Regions from separate parts of the Homo sapiens genome. Here all the other regions are linked to region 2. The links are contacts of gene promoters, found by promoter capture Hi-C in blood cells and fetal thymus (Javierre and others, 2016). All regions are on one chromosome and are shown on one strand. Each heading gives the region's core, a stretch centred on a gene start or on the middle of the fragment in contact. The rest is flanking DNA. Distances are from core to core; before and after follow the strand shown.

The links. Contacts are between HindIII fragments. The CHiCAGO score rates a contact against its expected background, and 5 or more counts as called.
Region 1: a fragment that was not itself captured here is called in contact with the fragment with the promoter of TAF4 in region 2 in 1 of 17 cell types (neutrophils); the score reaches 5.3 in neutrophils.
Region 3: a contact is called between a fragment that was not itself captured here and the fragment with the promoter of TAF4 in region 2, in 1 of 17 cell types (neutrophils). The highest score is 5.2, in neutrophils.
Region 4: a contact is called between a fragment that was not itself captured here and the fragment with the promoter of TAF4 in region 2, in 5 of 17 cell types (non-activated CD4 T cells, neutrophils, activated CD4 T cells and 2 more). The highest score is 8.0, in non-activated CD4 T cells.
Region 5: a contact is called between the fragment with the promoter of ADRM1 here and the fragment with the promoter of TAF4 in region 2, in 1 of 17 cell types (neutrophils). The highest score is 6.8, in neutrophils.

The regions. Positions count from the first base shown.
Region 1 is chr20:62,200,241-62,202,940 of GRCh38, reverse strand. MTG2 (mitochondrial ribosome associated GTPase 2) reads right to left here. Exons shown (of 7, transcript NM_015666.4): 7 at 1-2,258. The coding sequence ends at 1,864. Among named protein-coding and RNA genes, the nearest start is that of MTG2, 19 kb to the right of the region's middle. The HindIII fragment of the contact is 2,804 bases long and covers 1-2,700 here.
Region 2 is chr20:62,064,620-62,067,319 of GRCh38, reverse strand. It overlaps TAF4 (TATA-box binding protein associated factor 4), which reads left to right and starts at 1,439. Exons shown (of 15, transcript NM_003185.4): 1 at 1,439-2,700. The coding sequence starts at 1,510. It overlaps MIR3195 (microRNA 3195), which reads right to left and starts at 2,518; the gene lies at 2,435-2,518. It overlaps LOC105372705 (a long non-coding RNA gene), which reads right to left and starts at 866. Exons shown (of 2, transcript XR_936960.3): 1 at 629-866; 2 at 1-378. RefSeq lists enhancers at 150-663, 1,692-2,206, 2,207-2,700 and silencers at 659-1,038, 1,299-1,408, 1,669-1,758. The HindIII fragment of the contact is 9,555 bases long and covers 1-2,700 here.
Region 3 is chr20:62,278,726-62,281,535 of GRCh38, reverse strand. OSBPL2 (oxysterol binding protein like 2) reads right to left here. Exons shown (of 14, transcript NM_144498.4): 7 at 2,197-2,379; 8 at 371-478. Among named protein-coding and RNA genes, the nearest start is that of ADRM1, 23 kb to the left of the region's middle. RefSeq lists an enhancer at 2,103-2,603. The HindIII fragment of the contact is 1,436 bases long and covers 688-2,123 here.
Region 4 is chr20:62,242,342-62,245,071 of GRCh38, reverse strand. All of the region lies in intron 1 of OSBPL2 (oxysterol binding protein like 2), which reads right to left. Among named protein-coding and RNA genes, the nearest start is that of OSBPL2, 5.2 kb to the right of the region's middle. RefSeq lists enhancers at 63-670, 671-1,279. The HindIII fragment of the contact is 4,482 bases long and covers 1-2,730 here.
Region 5 is chr20:62,301,585-62,304,299 of GRCh38, reverse strand. It overlaps ADRM1 (ADRM1 26S proteasome ubiquitin receptor), which reads right to left and starts at 1,303. Exons shown (of 10, transcript NM_007002.4): 1 at 1,251-1,303; 2 at 519-732. The coding sequence starts at 731. RefSeq lists silencers at 1,194-1,653, 1,674-1,793. The HindIII fragment of the contact is 19,122 bases long and covers 1-2,715 here.

The DNA.
Region 1 (2,700 bases), core at 98-2,597, 140 kb before region 2:
AATTGCTCCTGAAAGCCCAGGCACCGGCCTGCTGTGCAAAGCGCGCCCCACCCCAGCGTGCAGAGACGCGGCCCCGGACCCTTGCGGCTCATCTCACCTGAGGCTGCCGTCTCTCCTCCAAGGGCTGGGGGTCCCCTTCTGATCATCCTTCTCTGCTTCTTTGTCCCCTCCACTTTTTTTTTTTTTTTGAGATGGAGTCTTGCTCTGTCGCTCAGGCTGGAGTGCAGTGGTGTGATCTCGGCTCACTGCAAGCTCCGCCTCCCAGGTTCACGCCATTCTCCTGCTTCAGCCTCCCGAGTAGCTGGGACTACAGGTGACCGCCACCACGCCTGGCTAATTTTTTTGTATTTTTAGTAGAGACGGGGTTTCACTGTGTTAGCCAGGATGGTCTCAATCTCCTGACCTTGTGATCCACCAGCCTCGGCCTCCCAAAGTGCTGGGACTACAGGCATGAGCCACCGTGCCCAGAATGTTCTGTTTTTGTTTGTTTGTTTGTTTGTTTTTTGAGACAGGGTCTCGCTCTGTCACTCAGGCTGGAGTGCAGTGGTGCAATCACGGCTCACTGCAGCCTTGACCTCCCAGGCTCACATGATCCTCCCACGACAGCCTCTGGAGTGTCCCCTCCACTTTCTTTCTTAGGGGCCCCTCAGGGACATGTCAGAGGCCTGAGACTACTTGGGGGATGTCTATGGGCCAGGCAGGCTGCCAGCAGCTGAGCTGTCCTTGCCCTGGGGCTCCTCTGCAGTCAGGGAGACACCAGGCATGGGCCTGGCTTGGATGCATCAGTACTTGACTGCAAAGACTTAAACCACAGACAGGAAAGGCGCTGCTGCAGTCTCGACGGTCAAATGCAGGGCCCCCTCAGCTGCCATCCCACTGAGGGGCGAAGGCCCATCATCTCCCTTCGGCTCGGTAACTGCCTGGCGTAGCACAAGGGTTCTCTTTAAATCCCCAGCAAATGGAGCTGAGTGGAAATTCCGCCCCATATTACCAGGCACACGTCTCCTTCCACTCCTCACTATACCCTGCCCATGCCACGGCCGCCTTCTGAGAATAACGCTGACAGTTCCATGGCCCACAGCCCCTCTAGTTAACTTGCTGTGCACACGGCAGCCCAGCCAGAAACACGCAGCCAGGTCGGATATTGGGTGCATTCAGTCGTGAAGCCTGAGGCTTCCTGGCTCCCACTGAGCACAGAGAAGTGTTCTGAAGGACAGGAAGCAGCTGGCCTCACTGCTCTTCTCAGACGGCTGATGGAGAAAAGCTCACAGCTGCCTGCGCCGCTCTGCCTGGACTTGCATCCTCGGCCCCACCCCTTGCGCAGCAGTGAGGCCCCCCGAGACACTGGTGCCTGGGCTTGCGGTACCGCAGGGCTGCTGGACAACGGGCCAGACGCAGCCCCAGTGTGGATCCAGAGGTCTCTCTCCGTAGCAAGCCATGGAAGCACGACGGGCACTGTGCTGAGAACCCTGGTCTGCACTTCTGACCTGGGGCTCTGGCTGTGCGGTTCTGCTGAGCTCATCCGAGAGTCCACGCGTGCATGGCGGAGACCTGAGTCAGCGGCAGGGCCACCCCGTTATGGGCACCCCAACCCCTTATTAGGGGTGTTAATCAGCACAAATGAGCAACTGGCTCATCAGTCGGTGCAGGCTGACAGGTGCAGGAAATACGGAGGGCAGGCGGGGTAGGGGGCACGGAATGCTTCCCAACATGAGGGCATCTCAGGCCAGCAGGCGGGGCCCAGAGACCCAGAAGCACCACAACTCCCCCGTGTCCACAAGGCACTTTATGCATTCAAAACCACCGAATTCACACCCAGGTTTGCTCAGACAGAGGCCCAGAGGCGACCCCGCTCTGGCGTGGCTACCACCTGAGCGGCTGGCGGCCCTGGCCCAGCTCGGCCTCCGCGTAGGCGTCATACAGCACCTTCAGGTGCAACAGCAGCTGCTCCAGGTTCTCGCCGGTCAACGCCGACAGCACGATGACCTCCTGTCCCAAGTGATCCCGGAGCTGGGACAGATTGGCTTGGGCTTCAGGGAGGTCAATCTTGTTTGCGACGATTGCGTGGGGCCTCGCAGACAGGCCCTTTTCATACATCTCCAGTTCATATTTTAAATCGTCAACTTGAGTCCACGGCTCAGGCTGAGAAAGATCCACCACGAACAAGAGAAAGCGGCAGCGCTCGATGTGCCTGAGGAAGGCGGACCCCAGACCCCTGTTCTGGTGGGCGCCTCGTATGATGCCGGGGATGTCGGCCACTGCAGGGAAGACAGGGGCACACGAGGTGACCACTTGGCACACCCAGCACCCAAGAGCGCCTTCCACCTCGAGCCTGGGAGAGAAGGCCTGGAGCCCACTGCGAAGGCGGATTTCCTGAGTTCTAACACTTTCCTTTCAAGGAACGCCTTGAACTGAAGCCATTTGATTTAGCACCTGGGTGATTCACTGGGCCAACTGACACCTGAGGAATTCAATGCTTGGAGATGTTTGGGAGACCAGCGTGGCGATGGATCTATCTAGTAGAGTACATTTCATACCTTCTCTTTCTGCTTCTAATAGGATTCAAAAAAGAGGAAAATGGCTGCCTGTACTCTACTAATCATTTGATTACTGATAGAAATTTACATGTAGAGTACTCTGCAGATATAAAGTGCCATCCAAATAACCTTACCAGCAGGCTTACTATTTTTAATGGGTGTA
Region 2 (2,700 bases), core at 190-2,689:
TGATTTCCCCCAAACACTGTTCCCCTATAGGGGAGGCACCTCTCCTAGGCTCCGTCCTCAATGCTCATTGGCTGCTGCTGCTGTCGAGAAACAAGCCTGGGGTGAAGTCCCGTATTCCAGTTATCAGTAAGTCCATTCCTTTGCAAGGCTACAGTTCGAACAGGCACAAGGGTCCAGTTCGGGTCTGCTTTCGAGACTAGCAGTCTCCTTTGTTAAAGCAATTAAAAAAATCATTTTCTTTGTCAGCAACGTCATTCATCGTCCCGAGGTCTCTGCTTATTGCGGCGCTGTCTTCAGCTGCGAAGACTGACCCTGTGGCCTCTTGGCCCCAGTGAGGTCCGAGGCAAGGAAGCGTCTCTCTGAAACCTATTCTGGGCTCTTAGGAAGAAATGAGAGAAAGGAAAACCACTAGAAATGTCCAATAACACCATCTTTTGGTTGGAAAATAAAACACGCAGAAAGAGGGGACTGGAACTTTTACTGAAGTATTTCTAGAGAGAAGGTGCTTGGGAACACTTTAGGTAACTTACTCCCCTCCCCCAGCAGAAGGTAAAAAAAGCTACTTCCAGACGTGCCGGCTTCAGGCTCGGGAACTTCGTTTGGCGCCTGGCAAGCACCGTGCTCTTACCTACGGGCTTATACGACACTCCTGTCTCCAAGGCAGCTGGGTGCGGGGACAGTCAGCCCGGGGCGGCTGGGTTTATTGATTAAAAATGGAGGGAAGGGCCAGGGGTGGTCACGATTGGAGGGCGAGAAGAGCCGTGCGCGCAGGACCCCTCCCCACCGCCCGGGACCGGCTGAGCCAGAGGCGGACCCAGCTTCCCCGCGGCGGCTTGGAGGGGCCGGGCGCCGGTCCCCGTCCCCAGGGCGCGCTGCGACAGTCCCCTCCCCGTTCCCGCCCGCCTCCCAGGCCCATCCACTCCAGGGCCTGCGCGCCGCCCGGCGGCGCCCCGGCATCCCCGCGCGCTGTTCCCCGGGCCTCGGACGGGCCCTGCGCCGCCGCTGCCACCGCGCACGGCGCCCGCCCGGCGCTCCCGTCAGCGCCGCCGCAGCCATTTTGGAGCGAGCCGAGACAAAGAGCGAGGCCCCGTCGCCGCCCCGCGCCCGCCTCGGCCCGGCCCAGCGCACCGTTCCCGCATCCCGCGCCCCGCCCGGCGGCCCCCTCCCCGTCCGCCACCGCCCCGGCGCCCGCGCCCCTGAGCTCCAGCCCCCGCGCTTCCCGCCGCTGCTGCCGCACCCCGGCCGACCGCCCGCGCCCCGGCCTCTAGCGCTCGCAGCCATTGGCCGCGCCTTTTAAGCGCGCGCCGCAGCCAATCGCCGGGCGCCCGCGGTCTCCGCGCCTGCGCAGGGCCGCCACCCCCGCTCCCCCGCCCCCCGGCCGCGCGCCCCCGCCCCCCGCCGGCCGCGCGCCGCCCCCCGCCCGCCCAGCGCCCGCCCCAGTCGGAACCTCCTCCTCGCCCAGGCGCGCTCGGCCCGAGCGGCGGCGGCGGCGGCGGCCGAGGAAAAAAGATGGCGGCGGGCTCGGATCTGCTGGACGAGGTCTTCTTCAACAGCGAGGTGGACGAGAAAGTGGTGAGCGACCTGGTGGGCTCGCTGGAGTCGCAGCTGGCGGCCAGCGCGGCCCACCACCACCACCTCGCGCCGCGCACGCCCGAGGTGCGGGCCGCGGCCGCCGGCGCGCTCGGGAACCATGTTGTGAGCGGCAGCCCGGCCGGAGCCGCGGGCGCAGGGCCGGCCGCCCCCGCCGAGGGCGCGCCCGGAGCGGCGCCGGAGCCGCCCCCCGCAGGTAGAGCGCGGCCGGGGGGCGGGGGGCCGCAGCGCCCGGGCCCCCCCTCACCGCGCCGCCCCCTTGTCCCCGCAGGGCCCGCGCCGCCCGCCGCGAAGCTGAGGCCGCCGCCCGAGGGCAGCGCGGGGTCCTGCGCCCCGGTGCCCGCCGCCGCCGCCGTCGCCGCGGGGCCCGAGCCCGCCCCCGCCGGCCCCGCCAAGCCCGCCGGCCCCGCCGCGCTGGCCGCCCGCGCCGGCCCCGGCCCCGGGCCCGGCCCCGGCCCCGGCCCCGGCCCTGGCCCTGGCAAGCCCGCCGGCCCCGGCGCCGCGCAAACTTTGAATGGGAGCGCCGCGCTGCTGAACTCGCACCACGCCGCCGCACCTGCTGTCAGCCTGGTCAACAACGGGCCCGCCGCGCTGCTGCCGCTGCCCAAGCCCGCCGCCCCCGGCACTGTCATCCAGACGCCCCCCTTCGTGGGCGCCGCCGCGCCCCCCGCGCCCGCCGCGCCCTCGCCCCCCGCCGCCCCCGCGCCCGCCGCCCCCGCCGCCGCCCCGCCCCCGCCACCCCCCGCGCCCGCCACTCTGGCCCGGCCGCCCGGCCACCCCGCCGGACCCCCGACCGCCGCGCCCGCCGTGCCGCCCCCCGCCGCCGCCCAGAACGGGGGCAGCGCCGGGGCAGCCCCCGCCCCCGCCCCGGCCGCCGGGGGCCCCGCGGGGGTCAGCGGCCAACCCGGGCCCGGCGCGGCGGCTGCGGCGCCGGCGCCGGGGGTCAAGGCCGAGTCGCCCAAGAGGGTGGTGCAGGCGGCGCCCCCGGCGGCGCAGACCCTGGCGGCCAGCGGCCCGGCCAGCACGGCGGCCAGCATGGTCATCGGGCCAACTATGCAAGGGGCGCTGCCCAGCCCGGCCGCCGTCCCGCCGCCCGCCCCCGGGACCCCC
Region 3 (2,810 bases), core at 156-2,655, 210 kb before region 2:
TCACTAAAGTGGTGAAAAGGCAAAGCCCACCAGTCATGAGCTTCCAGGAATAGGGCATTCAAGCCTAGACAGTGGCCAACGGCCGTGGACGGCCACTGCGCTGCACCTGGCAATGACACAGCTCTTCAGCATAGCTCAAAGCCTTAAAGTAACAACCGTGACGAAAAACGAGGTCTTGAACGAGGAGCATTCATGGCCAACACCGGTCAGAGTCAAGTCTAGGCAGCTGCTATGCCTGGGCTGGCGGGGACACGGCAGCAGCTCGTGAGGCTGAGCTAAAACCCACCAGGAGCACGGATGCTCACGCTCCCCGGCTCGCCCATCCCCACCCGGAGCCTCGCGCTCTCACCCAACGGTGGGGTGCTGTCACCTGTGGTTTAAAATCTCCACTGTCCCATACTGCTCTATCCACAGCTTCCCGATGATGACGTTGTGGACGCAGCAGGTGGGGTTGGTCCAGGTGTAGGCTTCATTATGTCTGTGAAGACACCAGAAAACAAGCAGTGAGAGTCCAGAAAAGCCAAGACACGACGTGACCCAAGACGCAACGACCAGGCGGGGCTGGGTCACAGCAACCGGCACCCGCGGGAGAGCAGCACGCTGCTTTGAAGCCCCTGCGACGGAGGCTGTGTATTTAGCATGCGTTTGAAATGTACTTCTTCTTTCCTTTGTAGCATCTACAAAGCTTTCTACTTAAATGTCAAGACAAGTTAATAAGCAATCAAAGAAGACTGAACAAAGACAAATGGCTTTCCTGTGAAGTCGTCAAAAGAAAGGCCACCTCACGAAACACACACGGCAGTAATGCAGGGTCCTGGGCATGCGGCCCTGGCTTTCTGGGGAGCTGGCACATGGCTGTGGAGGGGTGCAGGGTTTTCAACCGCACTCCACATACTTGTTTCCTTTACTCCTCATCCTCCCAAATGGCCCTGCCCAAGAAGAAAACACCCCACCAATGTGAGGCAGCAGATCAGCAGCCCTATGTTCTAAGGTGCTACGTGGGGGAGCCACAGTGAAGGCAGAAATCTGCTCAGAGCAGGGTATTTTGCCACACGTCTGGAATTCTCTCAATTTCCTGGGGGTGGAACCCAAACTGGTTCATCAGCAAGGTTATCAGCAAGGTGTGCAACTTTATCAGCAAGGTGTGCAACTTCTCATTTCTGCATGCCTCTTAATTAAGCAAGGCCACTGCACAACAGGCACTCGGCCATACCAGCCCCAGGACACACTCTCAGGGGCTTCTCCAGGTCCTTGTGGAACCTTCTAGCCACCATCCAGGCAGGGCCAATGTGAAGCAAAACCCAAATCAAATGCTTCATCAGGCAAGGTGTCGTTTATTACTTATTTCTGTATGTATTTGTTAGGACCTGCTGCCTACAACAAGACTGCAGGCAGTGGCTTGGCAAGACTCACGTCTCAGAACTGGTGGCCCAGGAGGACGCCAGCATCCGGTCTGTGTCTGTCGGGTCTTAGCGGCCGGCATTTGTTGGAGACTTGTGTTTTGCTCTGAGGTGTCTTTGGTTGACACTGGATTGGGGAGCATTTAGGCTGAGAGTGAAGAGGGGTGGCAAGCAGCCTCTCAGAGGGTCCCCTCCCACGCTGTTTCAAATTCCAACCCTAAGTCACCCCTGCCACATGAGCACAGGGTGGGGGAGTGTGCAAAGGGCCACTTCCCTGGCTTCCTTCTCAGCTCTCTCCCCCTGTGGGAGGCAGTGCCCTGCAGCAAGCAGCCCAGAAGGGGAGCCAGGACACAGGCGCCATGGGCAACCCAACCCTCATTGCCACCGCAACCTCACGGTCCCCGGCCCTCAGACACCTGCCAGCCTGGTGTGGAAGCTGCTAAGTTTGGGACAGTTATGCAGCAAAAGACAAGAAATACAATGAATGATGCCGGAAAGCGGGGTGAGTTCCAACTGCAGACGTGAGGATGCACCCCAGCAACATGGGACCCTGGTCATACAATGAATGATGTGACCGAAAGGGGGGCGAATTCCAACTGCAGACGTGAGGACGCACCCCAGCAACACGGGACCCTGGTCAGGAAGCTCATCTGAAGACGTTTCTGCTGTGGGGAGGTCCCCACCTCAGGAGAAAAATGACAGGGTTTCCTCCTGAAGGAAGCTTTCCCTCCACATCACCAGCACCCATTTCAGTTTCTGCAGGAAGCGGATCTCAGCAGGACGCACCGACACTCACTTGAGCAGCTCCAGGGTGATGGTGCCTCGGGGCTCCGCCTCCACGCTTTTGCCCCAGAACTTGAGCTTGGGGTAGATGGAGCCATGGAACAGGAAGTCATGGTTGAGACCTTCCGAGTGGAACGCACTGATGGGGGGGTGGTGACTGACCTGTTCCGATATAAATCTGAATCCTAAATCTTCCCTAGGTCAAAGAATAAAAAAGAGAGACACATTAATGGCAGCAAAATAAAAGAAAGGGCAGCTCAGACATCATGTGGAGCCCCTCACAGGACGCTGGGAAGCAGGGGCCCTCCATGCCACAACATGTGGCGGAAACACCCAACACCACCTCTCCGACATTGCACTTGGCCTAACGTTGGCAACAGACACACACACAAACATGACATCGCACTTGGCCTAACGTTGGCAACAGACACACACACACAAACATGACATTGCACTTGGCCTAACGTTGGCAACAAACACACACACAAACATGACATCGCACTCGGCCTAACGGCAACAGACACACACACAAACACGATATCGCACTCGGCCTAACGTTGGCAACACACACACAAACATGACATCGCACTCGGCCTAACGTTGGCAACACACACACAAACATGACAT
Region 4 (2,730 bases), core at 197-2,696, 180 kb before region 2:
ACCAGCGTGGACACACGAATGGCTCAACCCTGACTCGGGAAGGCCCTGTGCTACGCGTGCCAGCCAGGCAAACTTGCCAGGTGCACATGAGGACTCTGCATCAGTCCAGAATTCACGCAGGAAGTTTCTACACTGAGAAAGGCAGGTGAACCTCTCCCACTGTGCAGACAGCAGCACCCCCACTGTTTACCATTCTCCATGCCAAGAGGGTGACCTTGAGAGGCAGGCAAAGGTGAGCCCGGCTTGGTCCCAAGAAGCAGCTGTGGGGAGTGGCAAACCTTCCCACTGGGCCTCGCGGCCAGTGTGGCCCGACGTCCCGGAAGCGGAGCCTAGCGCCCCACTCACCACAGTCAACTCCCTCAAGTCTTGTCGCTGACTTAACTGCTTCCTGTGGAATATTAATTGCCAAAAATACACCACGCACCTCGAGGAACATTACCTTGTAATGCAGTACGATGTATTTCCAAACACACAAGATGAATGCAAGCGCTTCCGTACAAAAACATGTGTTTTAATCAACCTTCTCCTTATGCAACACAATAAAAAGCTGTTCCAATGCGGCCCACGAGACTGGGTGGGAAGGCAATGGACAGGGCGCATGCCCCACAGCTCACGGGCGCCCTGCTCTCAGAAAGCCATGCCGGAGGGCAGGGAGAGCACTCCAAGGGCAGCAGCAGTCCAGCCAGCCCCCGACCCGCCGCCGCTGTGTATCTCTGATGATCAAAACCAACGGCCCCGAGAGGAGCCCAGCCTGCGGCTGCAGCTAGAGGAGAAGGAGACACCTTGTACCCACATCTCACAACCCAGCAAGGGCCACAGCAGGCGGAGGACGCGGTGAGGGAGTGGGAGGAAAATTAAGACAGCAAAGGGAAGTGAGTGACCCAGGTGAGAGGCTGTTGTCCTGCAGGGCTCCCGGCCTTCCCCAGGGCACCTGCCCAGCCAAGGAGTGGCTGGCTTGCTGGAGTGCGTCCTTGCCCTCTGGCCGCCTCCTTCTCTGTGGCCTCAGCTCCAGGCCCTCCTCACCATCGTGCCCATCTTCATCCTGTGCAGCCCTAATGGGGTCCACTGTGCTGAGAAACCTGTCACCCTAACATCAGACCTGCCCACGTGGCTGCCAACTGTGCTTCCTGAGCACCTACAGGCAGGGCTTCAAACCAAGGTCAGGGAAAACCACCAATCTCTAACCCCCCTACCCTCTGCAAAAAAAATTTTTTTTTAATTAAAAAATTTAAAAAAACAGGAAAAAAAATTTTTCGTTCATTTTTTTCCCCAGAATAATGACCCACATTATTCATATTCATGAAGTTCTCAAAGGGGTCCTTGATCTAAAAAAGGGTCCTGACCCCACCGTGGGCCTCCAGCACTTGGACTCCCCGCTGAGGACCCACCCCAGACCCTCCCGAGCTTGTTAAACACATCTCTTCCTGGGCCCCTCCCGGGAAACCCAGGCTCAGTGAAGCTGGGGCTGGGCCTTGAACCCACACTTTTTAAAAAGTTCCCCCAGCTTTTCTGATGAGAAGCAGGGGTGAAAACTCCATGATGTTAACCCAGGAGCCTTCTACCCTGACAGCCGAGCCACTGAAGAGGCGGAGCTGCCGGGCAGGCGCTGCGGGGCAGGCGCTGCGGGGCAGGGGCTGCGGGGCAGGCGCTAGGGCTCCTCGGGCACCTCTGCACTGGGACCCCTCCCCTGGCCCCAGCTCAGGCACTGCCCTGGCTCTGCTTCCGCTCAGGTGTTCCAGCATTTCCCACAGGTGAGACTTACTTGGAAGACGGGTGATGATTACAGCGAGACTCCCAGCTCTGCTACATCATCAAGAGAGGCCAAGCCAGAGCCAGGGCACTCGCAGGAGCTCGCCACCACAGACGCAGCCCGTGTCCTCTTTCACAGTAAGAGGGTAGCCCCACGCCCTGTGCGCACCTGACACCTGCCGTCATTATCGGAGTCACCGAAATGTCACTGAATCACAGTCCCCCTAGTTTTAAGGCAATAATGGAAGTTGCTCTCTGGCCGAGCACAGTGGCACAAGGTCCCAGGTTACAGGGGGCTCTTTCTCACGATCAGCCTTGGATCAGCCTTAGGTTTATTCAGTACAAAGCACAGGCACTCACTTCCACACCATAGTCCTCCTTCCTCTACAGCTGCCTCCGTCTTTTCTGGAACCAAAACTCCACACAACTCCCTACACACTACAGTCCTCCCTGCCTGGTGCTCCTCCAAGAACTCCCCGTATGAGCCCACAACAGGCGCTCTCTGGGCACCCCTGAAGGTTGCAGTCCCAGCGCCTTTGATAAAGAAATGTGCTCAGTGTCTGCTCAGCCAAGAGCCCCTCAGACCCTTCCCACCCCTGACTTGCCTCAGCGTCGGGGCCACAGCCCCCAGGCCCTCAGTGCGCAGGTGAGAAGTACACACCTTACACCCAGGAGAGAGGCCTGATGACCGCCACAAGCCCTGAGGGTGCGGGAACCTCTTCAGGCCCCAAACTATGGAGCCAGCCACTAGCTCAACAGGACTGATCCCAGAGTTTGTTTCTCAAAATACATCAAGCGAGTGTTCCACTGAAAACAGAAGGCAAGCAAAGAGAAACAGCCACAAACATCAGGCACGAGTCTCAGATCCAGTCCCTTATAAAAGCTCACTTCCACCACTCAGCTCAACTCAGAGGTCACAGGATTTGCATCAGCAGAAGCTCCAGCGGAAAGAATGTGGATGCTGTGACATTCTGCTGAATG
Region 5 (2,715 bases), core at 54-2,553, 240 kb before region 2:
AGGGTCAGAGACAGCCCATGAAAGGCAAGGCCGGGGGAGAGAGCAGGGAAAGGGGCCTTTCAGATGGCAACGGGGTTTCTGAGACGTGCTGGAAACAACATTCCCAGAGTAGTTAAAAAGTCAACGCTGAACTGCTCTCAAATGTAACAAAGAACAACTAAGAGTTTGAAAAACAAAGAAGACTGAGTGAAGCCGCCAGGCACAGAGCTCCAGGCTCTCCAGGGCCACACCTCCAACCCCAGGCACCTCACACGGACAGTTCAAGGCCAGGCACAGAGCTCCGGGCTCTCCAGGGCCACACCTCCAACCCAGGCACCTCACACGGACAGTTCAAGATACACAGTGGCCGAGATGCCCCTGTCACCGCGGAAACCAGGACGACCCATCAGCAGGGCAGTCGATGACGGCCCCACGAGCGGTCCCCAGATGCGGCCAAGCCCCCACCGCGAACTCCAAAGCGAGGACTCCGAGGGCCCGAGAAGTCGCCTGTCCTGCTGCTGCGGCTCAGGGACACTCACGTCTTCCACGTTCCCGGACGTCCTGTCCTTCCAGCAGAAGTGAATAAGCGAGTCGTCCGTCTGCTGAATGTACACCAGCCCTTTCCGCTTATCCGGAGTCACGGTGGTCCCCTTCAGGGACATCTTTCCCGCCCGAAACTCCACCAAGTACTTGTTGGAGGCGCCCCGAGAGCCTGGCACCAGGCTTGGAAAGAGCGCGCCTGAGGTCGTCATCCTGAAAGCGCGGAGAGGACGCTGAGACGCGGCGGTCACTGTCGCCTGCGGTCCGGCAAGCTCCCGCCCCCTGGGGTGTTTGCGAGCAGGGGGCCTGCGCCCAGAGCTGCCTAAGGCAGACTCAGACACGCCGGGCTGCCTTTCCGCGTTTGCCCCGCTCACGACGATCGCACCGCCCGCACTCGGCGCTGGGCCGGGGCAGCCCCGCCAAGCCTAGTGGGGCCGGCCCTAGGCTTGACGCCGTCTCCGCGGGGCACCAGCCTCGACGCGCCACCCCGGCGACCCGCTCCGCGGGGCAGACCCGCCCGAGCTCCCGCCGAGCCCCACGTTCAGAGCCGCAGGCGGAACCGGGGCGGCGCCCGAGACCCCAGAACCCCCGCCCGGCCCGGCCCCCGCAGGCCCCACCCGCCGCGCCGGCCACCTTCTCGTCTTGGCTGCCCCCGCCCCATCCTTGGTCCAGCAGCCCCTGCCCCCGCCTCCGGTCGCCCCCGGCCGCCCCAGGCCCGGCGACTCCCGCACCTGCCTCGCGCCCACACTCGTTCGAGAGGCGCCGTCCGGGCTCGCTCTTCCTCCTCGGCGCCTGCCGGGCCCCGCCGGAAACCCGCGTTCGGCCCGCCCCGCCTGCCGCTCTCGCCGCCGATTGAGCCCCGTAAGCCGCGCAGCCGGCTCTAACCTGCCAACGATTGGCGAGGGCGACCGTCCATCGCACTCGCTCCTCCCCGGTCCGCCCCCGCGCCGGCGGCTCTTTTCCGGCGGAAGCGCGGGCCGCAGGGCGCTTGGACCAGAGCGGCCCCTATTGTTGCTGTGTCATAGGGGAGCGGCGGCGGCCCCTAGAGGCGGCGCCAGGGACCACAGGCGGGTTTCAGAGGGGCGCTGGGGAACTGCTCAGGTGGGGCCGAGCCCACCCCTCGGCGTCGCCCGCCCGGGCGGGCAGAGCTGTCACTCGTGTGGCTGAGCCAGGGGTTAGGCGGAGGCCGAGGAGTGCGGTCCGGCTGTGGGCGGCGGGCACCAGGGCTACGCATAGAAGTGACCATGGGTTCAGCGCTTTGGGGACCCAGGCGGGAGCTGGAGTCCACGCGTCCGGGAGAGCAGGGGTCCGGGAGGGTAGAGCGAGGGTGAGAACCGTGATATGGTCTCAGCTGTATACATCTAGTCCCGCAGGGGTCCGGGAGGGCAGGGGTCAGGAAGGGGTGGGTCCGGGAGGAGAGGGGTCCCGAGAGGGGAGGGGCTCCTGGAGGGGAGGGATCTGGGAGGGGTGAGTCCGGGAGGGGAGGGGTTCCCGGAGGGGAGGGGGCCCGGGAGGGGAGAGGGTCCCGGAGGGGAGGGATCTGGGAGGGGTGAGTCCGGGAGGGAGGAGTCAGGGAAGGCCTGAGTCCCAGACGGGTAGGGTCCTGGAAGGGAGGGGTCCTGGAGGGCAGGGGCTCACCCTCTGGACGCCTGGATGGGAAAGGCCACAGGGTAAAAAGGCGGCAGTCGCCCGCCAGTGTTGTGTAACTTTGAGTCACTTTGACACAAACTAAAGCGAAGACAACAGATAGTGTTTGTGGCGCCCCAGCCGGCTGCTGAAGGGACACGTTCTTTGGGATTTGCCTACAGCGACGCCAGGCGGGGGCTCTTAGAGGGCTCAGGCGCGGTGGCTCACGCCTGTAAACCCAGAACTTTGGGAGGCCGAGGCGGGCGGATTACTTGAGGCCAGGAGTTCAAGACCAGCCTGGGCAACATGGTGAATGAAACCCCGACTCTACTAAAAATGCAAAAATTAGCCAGGTATGCTGGCACATGCCTGTAATTCCATCTACTCAGGAGGCTGATGCACGAGAATCGCCTGAACCCGGGAGGTGGAGGTTGCAGTGAGCCGAGATTGCACCACTGCACTCCAGCCTGGGCGACAGAGGAAGACTCCTTCTCAAAAAAAAAAAATAATAATAATAATAGTAATAAAATAGAGAGGTCAGGCGCTTCGTGAGAACCCTGAGGTGCAGTG